Linked DNA regions of Homo sapiens: all the other regions are linked to region 3. Evidence: promoter capture Hi-C in 16 types of primary human blood cells and fetal thymus (Javierre and others, 2016). All regions are on one chromosome and are shown on one strand. The core of a region is centred on a gene start or on the middle of the fragment in contact, and the rest is flanking DNA. Distances in the headings are between cores, read along the strand shown. Region 1 holds the start of USF1 (upstream transcription factor 1). Region 2 overlaps F11R (F11 receptor). Region 3 holds the start of COPA (coat protein complex I subunit alpha). Region 4 overlaps MPZ (myelin protein zero). Region 5 overlaps DEDD (death effector domain containing). Region 6 has its middle 32 kb from the start of ITLN2.

Evidence for each region. The method cuts DNA at HindIII sites, captures the fragments that hold promoters and counts their contacts. A CHiCAGO score of 5 or more calls a contact.
Region 1: the fragment with the promoter of USF1 here is called in contact with the fragment with the promoter of COPA in region 3 in 1 of 17 cell types (fetal thymus); the score reaches 5.4 in fetal thymus.
Region 2: a fragment that was not itself captured here is called in contact with the fragment with the promoter of COPA in region 3 in 1 of 17 cell types (total B cells); the score reaches 6.4 in total B cells.
Region 4: a contact is called between a fragment that was not itself captured here and the fragment with the promoter of COPA in region 3, in 1 of 17 cell types (non-activated CD4 T cells). The highest score is 5.2, in non-activated CD4 T cells.
Region 5: a contact is called between a fragment that was not itself captured here and the fragment with the promoter of COPA in region 3, in 1 of 17 cell types (activated CD4 T cells). The highest score is 5.2, in activated CD4 T cells.
Region 6: a fragment that was not itself captured here is called in contact with the fragment with the promoter of COPA in region 3 in 1 of 17 cell types (non-activated CD4 T cells); the score reaches 5.4 in non-activated CD4 T cells.

Annotation. Positions count from the first base shown.
Region 1 is chr1:161,044,029-161,047,667 of GRCh38, forward strand. It overlaps USF1 (upstream transcription factor 1), which reads right to left and starts at 1,949. Exons shown (of 11, transcript NM_007122.5): 1 at 1,830-1,949. ARHGAP30 (Rho GTPase activating protein 30) reads right to left here. Exons shown (of 12, transcript NM_001025598.2): 12 at 2,918-3,639. RefSeq lists enhancers at 749-978, 1,038-1,918, 1,517-2,716, 1,829-2,308, 1,919-2,799. The HindIII fragment of the contact is 1,293 bases long and covers 1,086-2,378 here.
Region 2 is chr1:161,013,171-161,016,798 of GRCh38, forward strand. The region is part of intron 1 of F11R (F11 receptor); the gene reads right to left. Among named protein-coding and RNA genes, the nearest start is that of F11R, 6.2 kb to the right of the region's middle. RefSeq lists enhancers at 314-463, 874-1,093, 2,735-3,332. The HindIII fragment of the contact is 7,117 bases long and covers 1-3,628 here.
Region 3 is chr1:160,340,530-160,344,652 of GRCh38, forward strand. It overlaps COPA (coat protein complex I subunit alpha), which reads right to left and starts at 2,721. Exons shown (of 33, transcript NM_004371.4): 1 at 2,602-2,721. The coding sequence starts at 2,641. NCSTN (nicastrin) reads left to right here and starts at 2,854. Exons shown (of 17, transcript NM_015331.3): 1 at 2,854-2,952. The coding sequence starts at 2,868. RefSeq lists enhancers at 2,654-3,601, 2,874-2,923. The HindIII fragment of the contact is 9,711 bases long and covers 1-4,123 here.
Region 4 is chr1:161,301,854-161,305,590 of GRCh38, forward strand. It overlaps MPZ (myelin protein zero), which reads right to left. Exons shown (of 6, transcript NM_000530.8): 6 at 2,882-3,737. Among named protein-coding and RNA genes, the nearest start is that of MPZ, 6.2 kb to the right of the region's middle. The HindIII fragment of the contact is 1,122 bases long and covers 1,423-2,544 here.
Region 5 is chr1:161,125,104-161,128,684 of GRCh38, forward strand. The region is part of intron 2 of DEDD (death effector domain containing); the gene reads right to left. It also overlaps a transcript of NIT1 not described here. Among named protein-coding and RNA genes, the nearest start is that of DEDD, 5.8 kb to the right of the region's middle. The HindIII fragment of the contact is 1,588 bases long and covers 718-2,305 here.
Region 6 is chr1:160,984,867-160,988,671 of GRCh38, forward strand. No RefSeq gene overlaps it. Among named protein-coding and RNA genes, the nearest start is that of ITLN2, 32 kb to the left of the region's middle. RefSeq lists a silencer at 2,533-2,827. The HindIII fragment of the contact is 816 bases long and covers 2,079-2,894 here.

The DNA of each region.
Region 1 (3,639 bases), core at 699-3,198, 700 kb after region 3:
ATCTCCTGGGTTCAAGTGATTCTCCTGCCTCAGCCTCCTGAATAGCTGGGATTATAGGTGCCCACCACCACGCCCAGCTAATTTTTGTATTTTCAGTAGAGATGGGGTTTTACCATATTGGCCAGGCTGGTCTGGAACTCCTGACCTCAGGTGATCCGCCTGCCTCGGCCTCCCAAAGTGCTTGGATTACAGGCATGAGCCACCGCACCCAGCCAACAACACATCTCTAAATGGATCATTAAAGCTATTATGACCTGCCATGATGGCAGCTTCATGGGAATCAGGAAGGGCCATGTATTGGCCCCACCATCAAAAAATACAGTGTCATGGACACTGATGCTTCTTCCAGTTTCTCAGCCACATGTTGTCCATCAAGACATTTCTGTTTTCAAACCTAGGAAGAGGAAATCTGAAGCCCACTACCACTGGAAGAATATCCCTGACCACAAAGACTAGACTTGGCATTTGGGCCCCATTCTACTGACAGGACTCTTGTTTTGGGGTATCCAGATTTATATAATCTGTTAGAAACCCTAAAGCCCAAGTGGATCCTCTTCAAGCATTCTCTATTTTATTCATCAAGCCTTCCTGCAGAACAACACTGTTGCTAAAATGTTGCTATGACAACTCCAAATCAACTAAGCCTGAGCAAGAAGGGGTAAAAAAAAAAAAAACAGGGTTCTGAAGAAGAGACAAAGGGGGAAGAATCCACCTACAAGCTCTGCCTTAGGACCCTGACACCCAGCCAGAGGGCAGGAAAAACAAAGAGCTGGGCAGACATGCCTCCAGAAAGAAACAGCTACACAGTACAAAGCAATAAGATAATCCCAACACAAAAGGGGCAAGATTTTTGGAAATTCTCTACCCATAAGGTCCTCCAAACCTTTCCTATCCAAGGAAAATTTTCAATGGATAAGCCTCGGAAAGACCGCGTCCGAGGAAAATGTTGAAAAAGGAACTGAAAGTGAAACCGTACAGACGAAGTAACGCTGCAAGGAGATCCCAGTCGATAAGGGGAAGTAGCACTAGTGTTTTGGGACCACCTACATTTCCATCTTCAAACCTGAAGAGGAAATGCCCTGCGAAGCTTGCCGCGCTGACTGCAGGGGAAGGCAATGAAATAGAGGGCCCGGCACAGGAGGCATCTCTATTGGCCACAGCTGTCAGCCGGGGCAGTCTCTGAGGACACCCAGCAACGGGGTCAGGGTACTTATTCAAATCTTAGTTGGACATCCGGAAGCATTTCCTAGGCATTAGGGATCGGTGACACGGAAACAGGGATGGGACGTTGTGGTGTGCACGCTCAGGCCAGAAGGGCCCAGTAAGAGCCCTTGCTAAGTCTGGACACAAAGGGAAAAAAAATCAACTCCCGAAAGAAGTCAGGCACCTAGACCTTGCCTTAGAATGAGGCGTCTCCCTGCAGGCTCACCAACCAGAAGGCGCTTACGGAGCTGAGCGCCCGCCAGGCGCGAGCCCGGGAGCCTGCGCCGTGACCCCGCAGCCCCGCAGTCTTAGCCCCGCGCCCCAGCTGCTCCGCGGAGGAGGCAGGAAAGGGCCTCGGGGACTAGGGAGCTCAAGCGCCCGGTGCCGGCGGCTGCGGCGCGCAGCTGGACAGCGCAGGAGGGCTGGGACGCTCGCGCTCTGGGGAAGGGAGAGAGTTTGGCCCACAAAGCAGGGTATGAGATAAAGAACCAGCACAGCCCCCTCCCCCAAAACAAAGGCTTCCTCCCCAGCAGTGTTCTCTAACTTGAAAAACGGAAACAAAATCAAAGCTGCCCTGCCTTGCCAGTCCACCCAGTTTCCAGACTTCTGCCCGGTCCTACACTCACCGGCCAAGGCCGTCTCAGCTGCCGATTTTCTCCAACTGTGTTCTCCCTCTCCCGGCCTAGGTATCTCCATAGACAGCTGCTCATGCGCACTTCCAGCCCGCGGCCATGTTGGTGAGGGGCGGAAGTGTCGCTCTCGCCCCGCCCATAAACTCAAACTCAGAACTGCCCCACTTCCGCTCACTCCATCTTGATGAGAGTTGGTGTTTGTGGGTTATTTGTGAAGCCGGAAAGAAGCCGTGTCCTGGAGAATGTAGCTGAAGGCCTGGCCACTTTCGACAAGAACGGGAAAGAGACGACTAACTTGTACTAATATCTTAGTGCTTGGCAGGGCATTTTTTCATTCCAGGAAAGAAGAGAATCCAGCTGAGATCAAGGGAGGGACGTCCGACGGAGGCGCCATCTTTAACAAGGGCTATTTGGGAGGCCATCTTGGCGCAGGGCGTCTTTTTGAAAGGTTACCTGCTAGAGATTACGACCTATCGGGGCATGCATAGAATTGGATATGTTCCTTGTTATTCGCGTCAGCAGTCACTCATCCAAAGACCCCAAAGCTTCTAGTGTTCTAAAGGCTCACACCTTCTGTGACAGGAATCTTGATTCCCATTCTTCTCAATCAAGACCTACCCTGAATGGATTTGGAGTAGTGTGGTATAATGGGAAAAATTCAAGCTTGGGGGCCAGGCAGATCCAGGTTTCAAACCCATCTCTGCCACTTCTTACCTCTGAGACCTTTGGCAAACATTTTGACTTAATTGAGCCTTAGTTTCCTCATCTATAAACTGGAGATACTAGCACCAACCTTCCAGAATTGTGTGGATTAAATAAAATCAAGGACATAGATTTTGTGAGCACAGGATACTTAGTCCAGTTCCTGGCACATAATGAACGCATTATGTAAATATAAGTTTCTCTTCCTTATTTCCTGACCACCATGAACCTAGCTCTAGTTTCTGGCCACTAGTCTCCATGACAACAACTGAGGAAGAGCACCCAAACAAGAAGAAGAAAAAGAATGTTTTGCCAAATATGTGAAGATATAATACCTATCACCAAAGACTTTAATAAGAATAATGAGACTCCACACTATGTGTAAAAATACAGCTTTTATTCTGAGACATTGACCTTCACTAGAGTGGGACCTGTGGCCCCAGCCTGGCTGGAGAAGCAGTCCCAGGGCCTGAGTGACACCATTTCCCTTTCCTGAAATAGGAACAAGTTATTCCAAAGGAGAAAGGAGAGCCCAGAGAGATCTGTACAGGACCTCTCTTGCACATGGTGACTGGAGGCAGAGGGTGGGGAGCTGGAGAGGAGTCCAGTCCCTCCAACAAATATTGAGGGCTTCAAAGAGCTCTTCCTGGACGTTTCTCTTAATCTGGATTTAAAAGGGACAGGAGGTATCTTAGGGTCCAAGAACATAACAGGAATGGGCAACTCTAGAAGTGTTTGTGTGTGGAAGGCCCTAACCTGGCCCTGTCCTCCCTGTCTCTACCTTTGGCTTTCATGAAGAGAGATTCACAGCTCAGAGGAAGGGAGGAATTTCTCCAGTCTTCACTTTAACAAACTCTTTTAAGTTTTCTGCCTACCTTATGTTCCCTTTGGCCAATGACCCACTCCCTGGGAACAAGATCTTGTTGACTTTCTTGGGAATCTCCTAAGAGATAAGTGCTTTGTGTCGGAGACAAGTTCAGGTAAACCAACCAAGGCAGTGCCTCCCACAGTCAAAGAGAGAAGCTGGAGGGCCAAAGCCTATAGAGTTGGGCACTACAGCTGCTCATGCTGCAGAGGAGACAGCTAGTCAGGAACCCTGGAG
Region 2 (3,628 bases), core at 1,067-3,566, 670 kb after region 3:
AGGAGGGAAAACAGTCAACCAGTCTCTCTCTGGTTTTCTCTAAGAATTCATCCAAACTTCCCTCTGGGCATATGAGACTCACAAGACCCCCCAGTTGCCAGGGAGCTGGAGCCCTGCAATAGGAAGGATGAGTCAGGGCCTCCTCACCCCACCAGCTACAGCATACCCAGTTTAACTTCATGTTTTCCCCCTAATCTCTAGCACAGTGCTCAGAACATAGTAAACACCAATGTTTGTTGGATTAACAAGTGAATTTCACACTGCAATACAATTAGAACCTGGACCTAGAGCTTCCACTCTGGTTTTCCCCTTCCTCCCCACCACTCACCCTGTAGAGATTGAAGTAACTCCCATAAGGGTTGGCCTCCTCGTAAAGATCAAGAGGCTCCATGGGCCAGGGAAGTTCCACAGGGAAGGGCCTTTCCGGGGTTTGGGGTAGAACAGTTTAGAAATGTGTGAGCAAGAGGAAGGCTCTGTGAGGCCAACAACAGGCTGGGCTATGTCTAAATAGCCATCCTTGGCTGCACTTTCAGTGATGTCGATCAGCTGGCTCGGGTCCTCTGAGGATGGCAGAAAGTGGTAATGGCAGGGTAAGACAGGCTCGCTTTCACTCCCTGGCTCCCTCCCGCCCTCTCTGCAGAATTTCCGGTTCTACCTGCTCAGCTCCCCCGCCACCCCATCTTCCCAGTGCAAGGGAAGGTCGAGCCTTCCAGCGCAGGACTTACTTCAGGGGCCCAGCACCCACTTCCTGCCAGCCAGCTGCTTCCTCCTGTTCCGCCCCTACATTGTGAAACAAATGACGCAGCCGGACTTTAGACAGAAACCCTGCTTATCAGGGAGTCCAGGCAGATGAACTCTGGGTTCTCAATGCCAGGAAAACCCTAGTGTGTATCCACTCTCACAGTATGTGTTCACTCATACTGCTTTCCACAACCGTCACACAATAGTGAAACCTCATCCTCAATTATGTTGGACGCAAGGTCATCCAGGTCTTTCCTGAATCTCTGAAACAGAAACTGGTTTGAGTTTAGAGATCTCCAGGGTCTCTAGTCAAACCTAACAGATGTGATAAACAAGTCTCATTATTATCACATAAAATGTGCATGGCATTTAAATCTATTTTTGGGTGTGGTGGAAACGTGTGTTGCCCATTTATGTGTCCACAGAACAAGTGCAAATTGAACTCAGCTGACTTGGAGGGGGGTGGGATGTATCCTAACAGCCAAGGCCACAATCCCTAGAAACCAATATGGGCCAGGTGTAGTGACTCATACCTGTCATTCAGCATTTTGAAAGGCCAAGGCAAAAGGATCCCTTAAAGCCAAGAATTCAAGACCAGCCTGTACAACAGATGAGACCCTGTCTGTACTAAAAAAATAAAAAATTAGCCAGGTATGGCTCACCACTCACACTTGCCTATAGCCTCAGCTATTCAGGAGGCTAAGACTGGAGGATTGCTTGAACCCAGGAGGTCAAGGCTGCAGTGAGGCCAGGCACGGTGGCTCATGCCTGTAATCCCAGCACTTTGGGAGGCCAAGGCAGGCGGATCACTTGAAGTCAGGAATTCAAGACCAGCTTGGCCAACATGGTGAAACCCTATCTCTACTAAAAATACAAAAATTAGCCGGGCAGCTCACACCTGTAATCCCAGCACTTTGGGAGGCCAATGGGGGCAGATCACAAGGCCAGGAGATCAAGACCATCCTGGCTAACATGGTGAAATCCCATCTCTACTAAAAATACAAAAAAAAAAAAAAATTAGCAGGGAATGGTGGCGGGTGCCTGTAGTCCCAGCTACTTGGGAGGCTGAGGCAGGAGAATGGCGTGAACCCGGGAGGCAGAGCTTGCAGTGAGCCGAGATCACGCCACTGCACTCCAGCCTGGGTAACAGAGCAAGACTCCATCTCAAAAAAAAAAAATTAAATTAAAAAAATATGTACAAAAGGCTGGGCACAGTGGCTCATGCCTGTAATCCCAGCATTTTGGGAGGCCGAGGCAGGCAGATCACGAGGTCAGCAGATCGAGACCATCCTGGCTAACACGGTGAAACCCCGTCTCTACTAAAAAAAATACAAAAAATCAGCCGGAGTGGTGGCGGGCCCCTGTAGTCCCAGCTACTCGGGAGGCTGAGGCAGGAGAATGGCGTGAACCCGCGAGGCGGAGCTTGCAGTGAGCCGAGATTGCTCCAGTGCACTCCAGCCTGGGTGACAGAGCCAGACTCCATCTCAAAAAAAAAAATATATATATATATATATATACACACACACAAAAATTAGCCAAGAATGGTGGTGCACGCTTGTGTCCCAGCTACTCGGGAGGCTGAGGCAGGAGAATCACTTGAACCTGGGAGGCAGAGTCTGCAGTGAGACAAGATCACGCCACTGGACTCCTCCCTGGGCAACACAGCAAGACTTTGTCTCAAAAAAAAAAAAAAAGGCTGCAGTGAGCTATGATCATGCCATTGTACTCCAGCCTGGGCAACAGAGTGAGACCCTGTTTCAAAAACAACAACAACAACAACAAAACTCCATGATATATATATATAAGCAAGATGTAGAATATATGTAGTATGCCTCTTTTTGTGTCAGAAAGGGGAGAAAAAACAAGTATTATTTATATATACTTGTATCTGTAAAATGAAACACTGAAGAGACATTAGAAACTATTGGGGTTTGGGGTGAACAGGAGCAACATGGGAATGAGATACCCCACCCCTTTGATATCATTTTAATTATAAAACCATGTCAATTAACCTATTCTAATTAAATTTTTTTAAAAAAAATCACAGTAGCTCTATCTTGAATCGGAACTGGGCTGGAGACTCCACAAGACATGATCACAAAGGAACTGAAGAGCAACATGGTGAGGTAAAAGTGGTCTGGAGTGGCCAGGTGCAGGGGTTCACGCCTGTAATCCCAGCACTTTGGAAAGCCTAGGCAAGAGGATTACTTGAAGTCAGGAGTTCGAGACCAGCCTGGCCAACATGGTGAAAACCCGTCTCTACTAAAAATACAAAAAATTAGGGGCCGGGCGCGGTGGCTCACGCCTGTAATCCCAGCACTTTTGGAGGCCGTGGCGGGCAGATCATGAGGTCAGGAGATCAAGACCATCCTGGCTAACACAGTGAAACCTCGTCTCAACTAAAAATAGAAAAAATTAGCCAGGCATGGTGGCGGGCGCCTGTAGTCCCAGCTACTCAGGAGGCTGAGGCAGGAGAATGGCATGAACCCGGGAGGTGGAGTTTGCAGTGAGCCGAGATCGTGCCACTGTACTCCAGCCTGGCGACAGAGAGAGACTCTGTCTCAAAAACAAATAAATAAATAAATAATACAAAAAATTAGCCGGGCGTGGTGGCGCGTGCCTGTAGTCCCAGCTGCTGGGGAGGCTAAGGCAGGAGAATCGCTTGAAGCCGGGAGGTGGAGGTTGCAGTGAGCCAAGATCATGCTACTGCATTCCAGCCTGGGTAACAGAATGAGACTCCGTCTCAAAAAAAAAAAAAGTGATCTGGAGCCAGAAGGCAAAGACTAAAGGACACTGAAATTCCACTGCCACTCGTTTCCTAGTTCCAGGTAGAACTAGGAAGTGCCAGTCACCAGTTTCTAGTTTGGAGGGAACAATTCACTCCTGG
Region 3 (4,123 bases), core at 1,471-3,970:
ATCAGTTGATCCTTTCAAGGCTTGCTTTTAGGTTTTATTACAGAGGGGCTACAGCAGCCTTCATTCTAGGCTTAATCTGGAACCACTATTAAAGCAATAGCCATCTGAGGTCTCTATTTGAAGCCCTGTAATATTAGGAAGTCTTTCCTTTCTGGCAAGTAGGAACACAAACTAGTCCCAGTTCACTAGTGTGAACTCTGGGGATTGCTCTGCCTTCTCCTTTCCAGTGGTCCTTTTTCAGGTTTTGAATAGTTTTCTCACATGCAGATCAGTACTCAAACAAAGACCTGAGAAGACATCCTGCAGATCTCTAGTGCTCTCTCTCTGCAGCCCCCTCTTCTCCGGTATTTTGCCCAACAAAATCTAGCCATCTTTGCTTCCCCACACTCTAAATTTATGTCTCCTCAGAAAGACCAAGGGATTCCCCTCTTCACTGAAGCCTAAAAACTCTCTAGGCAGTAATCTACGACAATCACAGGACTCACCTTGTTTATTTGCCTTCTCTGGAGAATTATTTTCCTGCACTGCCTGTTGCCCAACATCTGTGAGCAATGTATGAACCTTTGTTTCATACATTTTGTTCAGTTGTATAGTTAAGGTGGGAAGGTAAATCTGGCTCTTGTTATTCTATCATGACTGGAAATGGAAGTCCCCAGAGGTAACAACTACTAACAGTTTGAAGTGTATCCTTTCAGATTTTTAATGCAGTTACACATAGACATAGGCTTTAGTATTTTATGAAAGTGGGGATCACGTTATGATGTTGTTCTGCAAACTTCTTCCTCACTTAACTATATAATATGGATCTCATGGAAGTACATATAAACATAACCTCATTCTTTTTAACTACAAGGGACAAATGTACTACACTTATATTATTCTAACAGGCATTTTGTCCGCCAATTTTTGGCTATCAGAAGAGCCTACTGAAGATACTTCTACACATAATCTAGCCTATTTGCATTATTACTGCCCTAGGCTAAAGACCTGTGAGATTGCTCAGGAATAGAATATGTGCACTTAACATTTTAGTACATATAGTTTAAATGTAAAAACACTGTATCAATATACAGTCTCATGAAGTTTATGGAGGTGCCCATTTTGCACACAGGCTGCTATCAGCTATTTGTTGTTTTGTTTTATAAATCTAAGACCCTCCCCCCAAAAAAGTAACTTAACTTTTTTTTTCTTGCATTTCTTTCATTACTAGTGAGGTGGAACTATTTTAATTATTTATTGAACATTTACAATTTTTCTTCTAAATTGTCTATTTTTCCATTAGGTTCTTTTTTTTAATTATGATATATAAGTACACTCAACAATGGATGTTTGCCCTCAAATATTATGACATCTTTGTTTTTCCTTCTGTACTGCCCAGCAAGAAATTAGGAGCAGAAAAGAAAACTGAAAGATTATGAAGACCCATTTCACATTTCACCTATACAGGTCTCAGAAATTCTTAATGGTACCCATCTTTCAAGGTCAAGTTTCCCAAGAGACTTAGAAACTGCTCAGAATATATTCACACATTGATAACAACCTCCAGTTTTTGAGCTACTGAGTCTACACCAGGCGCTGTAATAAATACACTCCATATACTTTCTCATTTTAATACTCTCTATAAAAGACGATTTTACAGATGAGGAAATACAGACTTAGAGACATTAAGTAAGTCATCCAAGTCACAGCTTGTTAGTGGATGTCTCAGGATTCCAAGGCAAGCCCATCTGACTTCAAAGACCAAGTTCCTAACCACTTTGTTACGCTGCATCTCACTAAATATTCTAGATACTATTTTTTCCAGGTCTTCGGAGACCTTACTTCTCTGACTTTCACATTCTAACGTTCTGAGGCTAATACTGCGATCTCAGTATTTGCCCTCCACCCCCAACGACCCACACTCGAGCTCTAGAGCTGCCGTACTTAGCAAATAAAAATACGAGATTTCCAGATAAATTTGAACTTCTGGTAAGCAACGACAGACTAAAAAACTATTCATTGTTTACCTGAAATTCAAATTTAACTGGGTATCCTGCATTTTATCTGGCAACTCTATCAAGTTGAGACTTTATTGGGGTTATAAGCCTCAAGTACTATTTCCGGGTAGTAAATAAAGCCGAATGGAGGCACTGATGTTGAGATGCTGCAGCCAAGGCCTCCTTAAGTGAGGTTGCCACTACTCGTCTCCAAAAAGGCTACTGACTCGGGTGCGAGTAACAGAGATCGAGACTCAGTTCCCAGGGCCACTCCATATAACACAGTCATCAAAAAGCCAACAGATCACAGGGCCTTTGGAGCAGAACAACACAAATCGGGAGCACAGCCAAGAGAGAAAGGGGGAAGAAAGAATAGGGAGGGGGTCTAAGGAATCCCCTGCAGTGTGGGAGCCACTTTATAGGTAAATCGAAGCCCAAGGACACACCAAAGAAGAGGGGACTGGAGAACCGCTAGCCAGGCCCAACCTCTCTCCCACCCTCCGTCTTCCTCCGGGTCCGTCTGGTGGGCCCATTTCGACCAACACCTCTACCCATTTTCTCTTCCCCGGTGTCAGCGCCGCTCCTGACATCCAACCTCCATGTTCCCCCTTTTATTCTCCACTACCTTTGACCCGCGCGCTCTTGGTCTCGAATTTGGTTAACATCTCTCAGGTCTCCGACTCCGATGTCTTAATCCGAGCCCCGACACACCCTGCTGCCCTTCGGACGCCTCCACGTCAGCGACCCTCTCCCGCGGTTTCCGGAAGCGCCTGGAAACACGAACTTCCGGTCTCTTAGGCTCCGGGCCACAGAGACGGTGTCAGTGGTAGCCTAGAGAGGCCGCTAACAGACAGGAGCCGAACGGGGGCTTCCGCTCAGCAGAGAGGCAAGATGGCTACGGCAGGGGGTGGCTCTGGGGCTGACCCGGGAAGTCGGGGTCTCCTTCGCCTTCTGTCTTTCTGCGTCCTACTAGCAGGTGAGGCCTCCCCGCCCGTGAGCTCCGTTCTCTAAGGGGAACTCTCGGATCGGCCCCGCCGCGACCGCCACTGTCTCCCTTCTGGTTCCTGCTGCCCCTCTGTCCCCCCACCCTGTAAATCCTCTTTCTTTTTCGTTCCCACGACAGAAGTTCCCCCTTTGCCTGGACCTGAAGGTCCCTTCTCCCCCGCAGCACGTCGTGTCGCTTCACTCCCTTCTCTAGGCCTCTTCCTGGACTTCGAGCCTGACCCTCTCCCACTTTGTCCAGATGTCTCGTTTTTCCCACAACCCCAGCCACCCACCCCACAGTCGAAAGGAACAGGTGTGAAAGTTAGCTTTCTTCCTCGCGTTTAGACTTTTTGAGACGAAAGCAATCTTGTTCTGTGGGTGCTGTGCGGCGCTTAAAAGGTGGATTTCTTATTTCTTCCTCTGTTGATTACATCCTAAGTCTGTGTCCCCCTGCCTTGCCTCAGGTTTTTTTTTTTTTTTTTTTTTTAATCAGTAAAGCAAGAATAAGGTAGGATATGGGTACTCTTAACTGTGAAGACCCTGAAGTAACAATTCAAGGAACTTTTGGCATTTATAATGTACTTAAGTGTTTGCTGATACGCGTTCATTTACTGATACATGGCTTTTTAGTTGGTCAAGCCCTAAAATGCAAATGCCTGTATATAACTATGACTGTGCCTTCCCCCAATTCACATTGTTTTTAAGGATCCTCAAAGGAGAAACTACAGCTGCCCCACACTGTGGGCACACAAATGACCTGCTGATGTTAAATTAACTGACCCGTGTATGTCATAAGGTTTCTCTCAATTCTGTTCACACTCTTGGAAAAATGCCTCAGAAAGTTTTCTTAGCCCAGCACCTGTGTATTAACCAATTAGTAATATACATACAGGATATACAAGCAGAAGTGTGATCACCTGTGCAACCAGAATCTGGCAAATCTAAGGTCAAACACCTTTCCTTTGACCAAGTTTTCTCTCTTTTAGTGTCACTGTCAATGGCGCTACATGGACTTTGTAATAACCCTTTGAGGCACATAGCTGGGTGCCATGTAGAACATGTATCTGTTACGATAAGTGTGTGCCCAAGAAATCAGAAGAATGGACTTTAATCTCATTTTAGAAAGTATGATATTAAATGATTTACCCAAGCCATACTTCAGG
Region 4 (3,737 bases), core at 734-3,233, 960 kb after region 3:
TCAGCCCCCTGAGTAGCTGGGATTACAGGTGAGCACCACTATGTCTGGCTAATGTTTTGTATTTTTAGTAGAATGGAGTTTCACCATGTTGGCCAGGCTGGTCTTGAACTCCTGACCTCAAGTGATCCACCCACCTCAGCTCCCAAAGTGCTGGGATTACAGGCGTGAGCCACTGCGCTTGGCCCTGTTTTTCTTTTTTAACACGAGTGTCTCCATCTTGATTCTGACAACTTTCACATATTGTTACTTAATAAATCTTATAATTTTTTTCATACAGGTTATGTACCTTTCTTGTTAATTTCTGTTTCTGTTCTTTTTACTGTCATCAGTGGGCTTCCCTATTATTTTCATTTCTAGCTAGATTTCTAGTTATAGACTGAAATTAATTTATTTTATAATCACACTACCAGATTGACTTCTTAGTTCAATACATGTCTAGTTGCATCTTATGGATTTCCTAGAAACACAATCATATTATCTGCAAATAAAGATAAGTTTCTCATCTATGTATACAGATTGTTCCTTGTTTTTGGTTAATTACACTAGCTAAATTCTTCAAATATAATACTGAATATTTTTAGCGATAATGTAAGTACTGTCTTTTGTTTTAATGACAATGGCTGCAATATTTCATATTTAATATGCTTTTTAAATGATTTTTGAAAAATAGTGTCCATTATGGTTATTTCTATTACTATTTTACTTAGAATGTTTTGTAGGAATAGCTACTAAAAAACAATTGCTTTTTTTTTTTTACATCTCCTCTTGATAGAATTACGTTTTTTCCCTGATGATATAACACATCCTGTTAGTAAATTTCCTGATACTGAACTATTCTTTCATTCCCAGAGTAAATTCTTCATGGTCATAATTTATTATTTTATTAACTCATTGTGGAATTCTCTTTTGCAAATATTTTATTTAGACTCTTTGTCTGCGTATTCATAAATTGGGTTATAATCTTTTTCTTTTTATGGTTAACACTGAAAAAGGCTTTAAATTATTCTCAAAGTGCTCACATGCCTGGGCAAAATTATTGCTATTATTAACAACGCACTGAGGATTGTGAACGATTTATTTCAAAGTAATAATTAGATGGGATTCAAAGTTTCCCATATAACAATGTCATTTCCCTTTATCTGAATCATTATTCTAGACTTTATTTAATGCTTTACTGCAGAGGAAAGAAAGGGGGGATGTGGCTTACTTTGTTGGGGATTGTGGAAAATGGGCACAGTCCTGGAAAAACCCACATTAAGTGTGCAATGCTTGTGAAAATGCCTAATGCAAGAGATTGCAAAATGTTGTCCCAGGGTACCAGGATTCTTGATGGAATAAGAAATATTAAAATAATTGGATAAACTGAGCTAGCAAAATGCAGGTGGCTGATAAATTTTAGAACAAAAGTGTAATTAAATGAGAAGCTTTGAGCTATACTCTATCTCATAAGTAGCATAATATTTCATTTGACTCTCTCTCTCTCTCTTTCTTTTTTATTTTTATGAGACATAGTCTCGCTGTGTTGCCCAGGCTAGAGTGCAGCGGCATGATCTCGGCTCACTGCAACCTCCGCCTCCGCGGTTCAAGCAATTCTCGTGCCCCAGCTGCCCAAGTAGCCAGGGTTAGAAGGCGTTCACCACCATGCTCGGCTAATTTTTGTATTTTTAGTGGAGACAGTGTTTAGCCATGTTGGTCAGGCTGGCCTCAACCTCCTAGCCTGAAGTGATCTGCCCACCTCGGCCTCCCAAAGTGCTGGCATTACAGGCATGAGCCACCACATCCAACCTCATTTGACTCTCCTGACAGTCTGGGAAGTTTAAGCAGGGAACCCAGCTGCAACTATCTAATGAATAATGGACAGTTTAGCATCTTAACTAATAAGGAATCTTGGGCTTAAGATATTCCCAACTTTATTACTGGGTTGTGACTAAGTTTCCTCTCCCACTTCCCCCCAACAAAAGGCTATATATACTCTATTAGCTTTTATATTTAAATGAAGGCAGATTGATTTTTTTTAAAAGACATTGAAGACACCCCTCAAACAAATGGAAGCACTCTGGGTTTTGGTAAAGCTGGTGTTAATCATATCTTTAGCTTCTTAACAAGGGGAAGAAATTACTTGTGGGCACTTTGGGTTTTTTTGTGCCATCAGTAATCCCCAGGGGAAAATGATACGTATATGTTTTTCCACAATCAGTTCAGGATACCAGGATATTAATGGTATACCTAAATCAACATACCAACAAACTAGCTAATGAGGTATTAATAGTATACCTATTAATAGGTAAACAGAAGTAAAATCATGTACCAACAAAACAAAGCAGTGATTGTTTAGAGAGGTGAATGGGATTTGTGCTAATTTGTAAAGTGTACTACCTTAGGCAAGCACTAGAAACAAATATTGAACACCTTAATATTTAGTTGTATATCAACTTACAGTTTACAAAGTTTTCCATACACAGGATCTCATTTGATTATTATAAAATCCCTAGGAATTAAGCAGGGCAGATATCATTATCTCAGTTGTTTACAAGTACATAAACAAGCTTACCAAAGTCAGGTAACTGTCCTGGGGATCACACAGCTAGAGAGTGGCTGGGATGTTTTAAAATTCAGATCTTGGTGAAGACAGATTCTGCGTTTTAACTCATGTAAAAGCAGAGACTGGCAGAGTTTACAACGTAGTATAATCTCACTGATTATTTGCTGAAGGTATGAATGTGTCTTGTGAGGCTATTTCAGAGTTCTTTCTAGTATACTATATAAGCCCACCCCAAAAAAACAAACTAAACAACTGAAGCCAAGTATGGAAGGTTGGGGATGGGATAAGGGGCAGGAATTATTCCCAGGAGGACTAGGAAATTCTAGACAAGGCAGCAGCTTCTGGAAATGTCAGTGTTTATTAAACATTTAAGGACATTTGGAGGTTTGAGAAGAAATATACAGAATGTAGAAAAATCCTAAGAATCCCCTGTGGCTGCAGTGCAGCCTCTTCCTCCCCCCCGCCCCCCCATTTCCCATTTGTTTTTCCTGCTTTTTGTTTGGTTGTTTAAAAACCATTTCTTAAGGCTCATTTGCCCCCTCCCCCACTCCCTGACCTATGAGGATCCATTCTCTCTCTCTGTCTCTCTCCTCAAGACCTGGAGTCCCAGAACAGTGCTCCAAAGTGGTCAGGGGGAACCAATGCTATACTGAAGTGTGAGGATCAGGGGCCCCTCTACTTGGGCTGGCTCTTCATTAAGGACTTAAGGGGGGCGTGAATTGCAAAAGCCACATGACGTCATTGGTCCTCAGTCATGGGTGTAAGGGCAGAGGATGAGCACAGGTAAACAAACAAAGAATGGATTAAAAAATAAAAAATAATAACCTAAATAAACCCTGAAGGAGAGTCTGATCTGGGTGCTCTGGGTATTAGCTGGGGGGACAGAGTATGGAGCTGGGCCACCTGGTAGAGGGGAGGGAGGGACGGGAGAGGAAACAGCCAGGGGGACAGGCTGGGGGATGCAGGAGATGGGAATGCCAGGTGGCCTGGACTTGAGGCAGAGGGTATCAAAGTCCCTTTCTTCTCAGTGCTCAGGTGGACAGGCACCAAACACACAGCCCCCGGGGCAGGTGAGGGGTAGGATTAGCTCCTGGGCTCCCAGAAAGCCAGGGGTGAAGGTGGGGGAGAATACAATTGCCTGGGGAATGAATTCTGGAATGAAACTTACATCTCAAAGGGAGGTGAGGGCAGGGCA
Region 5 (3,581 bases), core at 262-2,761, 780 kb after region 3:
CTAGTTTAAATTCTGACTGTATCACTGAAAGGCTGTGTAGCTGTGTGACCGTAAGCAAGTCACTTAACTCCAGATTCTCAGTGCTGTCATCTATAAACAGGGATGAATGAATATACACCTCAGAGTTGTTAAGAATCCAATGAGAAAATCACGGGTAACCCTTATATAAATGGTTGTGAAACATTTCAAAGATACAAGCATCCTTGGCCTTTGCAGCCCAGAATCATCCCTCCACATTTTTCCTACAATCCAACCACATCAAGAAATGATAACTGCTCAGAAAGTTTATCAATATTTACCAAAACTCATGGATTTAAAATAAACATTAAGTTTCTACAATAAGCATTCTTGTAATTCTATGCCATTTGTACTCCCTTGATCTTCACCCTATTTGGCAATATCAACTTTTTTTTTTTGAGATGGAGTCTCACTTTGTCACCCAGGCTGGAGTGCAGTGGTGCAATCTCGGCTCACTGCAACCTCCGCCTCCCAGGTTCAAGCAATTCTCGTGCCTCAGCCTCCCAAGTAGCTGGGATTACAGGCACGCACCACCACGTCTTGCTAATTTTTGTATTTTTAGTAGAGATGGGTTTTTACCATGATGGTCAGGCTGGTCTTGAACTCCTGACCTCAGGTGATCCACCCACCTCGGCCTCCCAAAGTGCTGGGATTACAGGCGTGAGCCACCGTACCTGGCCTTGGCAATACCACCTTCTAAGCTTTCCTCATGGATGTCATTTACCAATCCCCTATCAATGACCAATCACAGCTCCACATTCGTTATATAGTTTGGCTCTTGATTCACAAAGTTCCTCCATCGTTATGGGCTACAGGTAATACCAATGACGCAGCCATTAATCAATTCCCAAATTCAACAACTTTGACTCAAGTCACTCATACTTACTGCTCCACCAGACAGTACCATCCTATACTGTGCACTCTCTGGTCACACTCTCCAATCACACAATCAATCCTAAATTCCTGTTAATGCTACTTCTAGATATTTCTTAAATCTATCCTACCTTTCCACCTCCACTGCCATGGTTCAGATTACAATAATCTCTCACCTGGACTACTGTAACTTTAAAAGTTCTCTGCAACACCAATCTTAACCTACCTAAATCCATCCACTGCCACATCTAGTTCAGTTAGCTGTCTGAAGTCCACAACTGACCAAGTCACTTTCCTGCTTCAGACCCATTGATTGCCCCATCGTTATCTATAAGAACACTCCAAACTCTTTTTTTTTTTTTTTTTTTTGAGACAGAGTCACTCTGTCGCCCAGGCTGCAGTGCAGTGGCGCGATCTTGGCTCACTGCAACCTCCGCCTCCCAGGTTCAAGCGATTCTCCTGCCTCAGCTTCCCGAGTAGCTGGGACTACAGGCACCCACCACCACGCCCAGCTACTTTTTGTATTTTTAGTAGAGACGGGGTTTCACCATATTGGCCAGACTGGTCTCGAACTCCTGACCTTGTGATCCGCCTGCCTCGGCCTCCGAAAGTGCTGAGATTACAGGTGTGAGCCACCACGCCTGGCCGAACACTCCAAATTCTTTACACACACATCAAGCCTTCTAAGATCAGGCCTACCTTCCCAACCTCATTTCCCATCACATCCGCTTTTTATTCTCTAACATTATCAGTTTGTTTATAGTTCACATACATCATGCAATTTCTCTATACCTTCTTCAGGCTCTTCTCTTTGCCTGAATGCCCCTCTCCCTTCTCTATTCCACACCCCCATCATCACTCTTTTTCAGATGGCTAACTCCTACTCATTCTTTAAGAGTCAGCTCAGATGCCATCTTCAAAATGCATTTTCTACACCCCCATGCAGAGATAAGTAGTCCTCTTCTGTGCGCTTATGGAACACTATGCATATCTCCTTTACACCATTTATCACCATGTACTAAAATTATTTGTGTATTTATTATCCCATTAGATCCTACTCAACTCATGGAGAGATATATTCATCTTTATATCCCTAGTGCCTAGTAATGGACAGAGCCTCAAATATAGTGGGAGCAACCCACTGTTGAACTGAACTTAATCTCCAAGAGATCACCTCAAGCAATTCCAATTAAGAAACAAATTCACAAAAGTCCAAGAGAGGACCCCATTAAAAACAGATACAGGTAATTCAGTTACCATGCATATATTCTAACTAGCCATAGCCTCCTCTGCAATGTCCAGAACTACCCACACCATACCACACCACTCTACCCTACTCAACAATTAAACAGGTTGCTCTGTCCATTTTATACAAAAAGGAACTGAGGCTAGACTAGGAAACAATAAAATAATAAGCTTCTTTGGAAAAACAAAGCTGATAGAGAAAGCTGAAGAGTAAGTAGGAACTGGTCCTTTCTTCCTCAGATGAAAAACTAAAATGAAAGCACAGAGAAACTCATTCCCTTAAGAAAAGGGGAGGTACACTCTGGGATCACTTAACCCTATACCATGGGTTCTGATATGTAGACAGGAAATGTAATCCATATATAGTTTTGAGAGCCCAGATGCCCCACCCAAAGCATGGGAAATAGCTATTCAACTATAGACTGGTATTCCTTGCCTCTTCCTCTCGATTCACCTGTTGCTGTTACTGGGTACAAATGAAGGTGCTAAAGGAAAATAAGTTATTGCTCATAGCAGGCAACATGAGAAAACTGAGCCTCCTCAGAGCCCCTGCAACTTCTCTTTGTTCCCTATCCCACCTGTTCCCTTGGGCCAGCTGTTGATTGTGAGGCTCTCAGATAAAGCAGATTGGGTAGGTTTCACATTAAACCAACCAGAAGAGCTGGTTGCTCCACAGTTCCCTAATTTAAAGTGTGCTTAAACCCCAGGAAATGAAGAAACACTGTCCCCACATACCCTCGCAATGGAAAATAAGGCAAAATACAGGAAAGCACTGTGGTCCTAATTATGTATCAATGGATGTAATTCTATAAGCTTCAATCCTTTGAAGTTAACTCCCTACATTTGAGAGGAAACAAACACACTAGCCACCTTTAAGTCCTAGATCCCAGGCTAGATCATCAATGTACTAGGAATTATAATAGCTTTTAGGTCAGTGGTTCTGAACCAGGGGCAAATTTGACCCCTGGGGAATATGTGGCAATGTCTGGAGACATTTCTGATTATTATGCCTGGTGGGGAAGGGGACTGCCATCAGCATGTAATGAGTAGAAGCCAGGGATATTTAGAAACATCCTATAGGACAGGTGCAGTGGCTCCCGTCTGTAATCCCTGCACTTTGAGAGGCCAAGGTGGGAGGAACACTTGAGCCCAGGAGTTTGAGATCAGCTTGGACAACATGGTGAAACCCCATCTCTATGCAAAATATAAAAATTAGCCTGGCGTGGTGGCATGCACCTGTGATCCCAGCTACTTGGGAGGCTAAGGTAGAAGAATCGCTTGAGCCTGGGAGGTCGAAGCTGCAGTGGGATGTGATAGCGCCACTGCAGTCCAGCCCAGGTGACAGAGTGAAACCCTGTCTCAAAAGAAAAAAGAAACATCCTGTAATGCACAGAACAGTCTGCCACAACAAAGAATCATGCAGCACAAAATGTCAATAATGCCAA
Region 6 (3,805 bases), core at 1,237-3,736, 640 kb after region 3:
GTAGTTGAAAGATAATTTAAGGTATATTATTCTCACCACAAAGAAATAATATTTGCTGTGATGTATATGTTAATTAGCTTGATTTGATCATTCCACAATGTATACAAGTATCAACATATCACTTGTACCTCATAAATATATGCAATTAGTATTTGTCAATTAAAAATAAAAGTTGGCTGGCTGCGGTGGCTCACGCCTGTAATCCCAGCACTTTGGGAGGCAGAGGCGGGTAGATCACCTGAGGTCAGGAGTTCAAGACCAGCCTGGCCAACATGGAGAAACCCCATCTCTACTAAAAATACAAAAATTAGCTGGACGTGGTGATGTGCGCCTGTAGTCCCAGCTACTCGGGAGGCTGAGGCAGGAGAATTGCTTGAACCCAGGAGGCAGAGGTTGCAGTGAGCCAAGATCGCACCATTGCACTCCAGCCTAGGCAACAAGAGACTCCATCTCAAACAAATAAAAAAATAAAAAATAAAAGTTTCGGCTGGGCGTGGTGGCTCACACCTGTAATCCAGCACTTTGAGAGGCCAAGGCGGGTGGATCACCTGAGGTCAAGAGTTCGAGACCAGCCTGGCTAACATGGTGAAACCCCGTTTCTACTAAAAATACAAAAAATTAGCCAGGCGTGGTGGTGCACGCTTGTAGTCCCAGGTACTTGGGAGGCTGATGCAGGAGAACTGCTTGAACCCAGGAGGCAGAGGTTGCAGCAAGCCAAGATCACGCCATTGCACTCCAGCTTGGGCAACAAGAGCAAAACTCTGTCTCTTTTTATTATTACTTTTTTAATAATAATAATAATAAAAGTGTTATGCGTGTCCACATAAGAGACCACCTGAACAGGCTTAGTGTGAGCAACATGGCTGTTTATTCACTTGTGTGTGAGTGGGCTGAGTCCGAGAAAGGGGTCAGCAAAAGGTGGTGGGATTATCATTGGTTCTTATAGGTTTGGGATAGGCGGTGTAGTCAGGAGCAATTTTTTACAGGCAGGGGATGGATATTACAAAGTACATTCTCAAGGGTGGGGAGGATGTTACAAAGTACATTCACAAGGGCAGGGAGGGTGTATTGTCACAAGGGCAGGGAGGATGTATTGTCACAAGGGTGGGGAGGAATGTTACAAAGTACATTCACAAGGACAGGAGTATCACAAAGTACATTATCACAAGGGTGGGGGAATGTCACCGTGGCTTGACCATAGTGCAGCCAGCTCAGAGGACCTTACAAAAAGTTTCATACTTGCACGTGTTTTCTTGTGGCAAAAATATAAAACATTTAATTTCTGGGATTCTTTTTTTTTTTTTTTTTTTTTTGAGATGTAATCTCACTCTGTTGCCCAAGCTGGAATGCAATGGCGAGGACTCAGCTCACTGCAAACTCCGCCTCCCAGATTCAAGCAATTCTCCTGCCTCACCCTCCAGAGTAGCTGGGATTACAGGCGCCCACCACCACGCCTGGCTAATTTTTGTATTTTTAGTAGAGACAGGGTTTCACCATATTGGCCAGGCTGGTCTCGAACTCCTGACCTTGTGATTTGCCTGTCTCGGCCTCCCAAAGTGCTGGAATTGCAGGGTGAGCCACCACGCCTGGCTGGGATCATCTTTTTTTCTACAGAGAGAAAATCAATTGTATCTCTACCAGGCAAACAATTTGCATTTGTATTAATATGAACAGGGATCATTTGTATCACTGTCAGGCTTCTACATATTTAACTTTTCTTTCTAGAGTTGCAAAACAGTACAAGACAAGGAAGGATACTGACCTGTAGAGAATCAGAAAACCCCCAGAAGCATCCTGTCCTCTAGTCTAGACAAATCCTAGTAATCCACTGGAAGGATGCCTGTATTTGTCCATTTCAGAAACTGTCACAATTTTTCCTTAACTAACAGCAGGAATTTTGATAGCCAAAAGTCATATTGTTTATTATCACTGTGGGAGCCAAGGCCTTTGGCTCCCTGAAGTTTGCTGAAAATCACTGACGCAAGGCAGATTAATAGGAAAAAAGGCATACAAACTTATTTAATATGTATACATAGAAGCCTTCAGAATGAAGACCCAACCTCCCAGTGAGGTGCAAAAGCTTATACGCCATCATGAGGTTACAGAAAGAATGAGTTTGGATCCTGCGGGAGAAAAGGAATTCTGTTGATGGGCAATAAATGATTACTAAAGAGAATGATTTGATCAGGAAACAAATTAACTTGTAAATAGTTTTCTTTGGAATTTAGATGACCATGAGAAGCAGGCATTAACTCATGAAAAGGTCTGTTCAGGTGTGGTTACATTTTTGGTCTTACAGGAGGAAAAGAAACCTACTGTTCTCCTTGGAGGGTCTGGATCTTAGGCAAATAAAGGAACTTCAGCTTTTTGGGAGAGACCGTGTGGAGCGGGGAAGGTCAGAGAGATCTTCAGGTTGCTTCTTCGGTTCAGTACTATATTTGGGGGTATCGATTTATAAACCCCAACATTACCTAATGTATTGTTCCCGATGAGCCTCCCTCCAATCCCTTTTCCCCTGTATCCCAATGGCCGGAAACTTGTGGAAATTCTTCCCAAGGCCTCTAAAAGCAGCACTTGCTTTTGCCTGGTTGCTAATGCAAGTTGTGAATTGCGCACGTGAATCACTATCACTGTCCATCCACCACTCTCTTGCTCTAAGGCATTGAAACGGCACTGCAGAGAGACGCCAGGTAACAAAGACTCTCCTTAACCAAGCTCTAGCATGGCTTCTAGCAACTTAAGGCCTTGTCCCTAGGAGGACCTCAGCCCCCCGCTTAAAATGCCTGCCTGAAAAAGCTCATCGCTGTCAGAAAAATTTACTGTGCATCCCAGCCCAAACCTAGCAATAGACACAGGCCCCTGAACTTCATCTTAGTGCAATTACTTAGAAAGAAAGCTTGCAATTAAAACATCTTTCTCTGCCTCTTTGAGATGTAAATCTTCTACCCAGAGCTATTTTCACTGGGACCTGAGAGTTTCTTTGAAATGCAAACATTTGAGGAAATAAATCTTGCTCCAGCTCCCAACCAGGTGGGTGCCTTGCTCTAACTTGCACTACTAGCTCCTGTCGTAAAAATAGGTGCTTATTTCTCTTCTGGACAAGAGCCAATTCACAAATCCAGATTGTCTAGTCACATGGAGCAATTCTCCTTAATATCTTCATGCCTATCCCTTAGCACATCCCAGCCTTCAAAAGGCCTCCTGCATTTTTTTTTTTTTTAAGGAAGTTAAGTTCAGTTCACCTTGGGCCCTCTTCCCTACTGCAATAGTTACTACTTAAAAAAACCTATCCTAGGCCGGGTGCAGTGGCTCACGCCTGTAATCCCAACACTTTGGGAGGCCGAGGTGGGCAGATCACCTGGGGTCAAAAGTTCAAAACCAGCCTGACCAACATGGAGAAACGCTGTCTCCACTAAAAATACAAAAAAATTAGCCGGGCGTGGTGGTGCATGCCTGTAATCCCAGCTATTCAGGAGGCTGAGGCAGGAGAATCGCTTGAACCCCGGACACGGAGGTTGCGGTGAGCCAAGATCGCGCCATTACCCTCCAGCCTGGGCGACAAGAGTGAAACTCCATCTCAAATAAATAAATAAATACCTATCCTTACTTCTTGTCTAAACTATTGTCTGGCTTTGTTTAGCTTTGACACAGGCTTTATAAGCCCACAAGTAACTTTAAGGCAAAGCCTTATAAATTCATCCAAGGCACTGACATTGAAGAATGTCTAACATTTCTGTGATATGCTTCAATCTCACTTCCAGCCTGTTCCAAACCTTCTTTTTAGTTTTCTACTTCCAGAGACTTT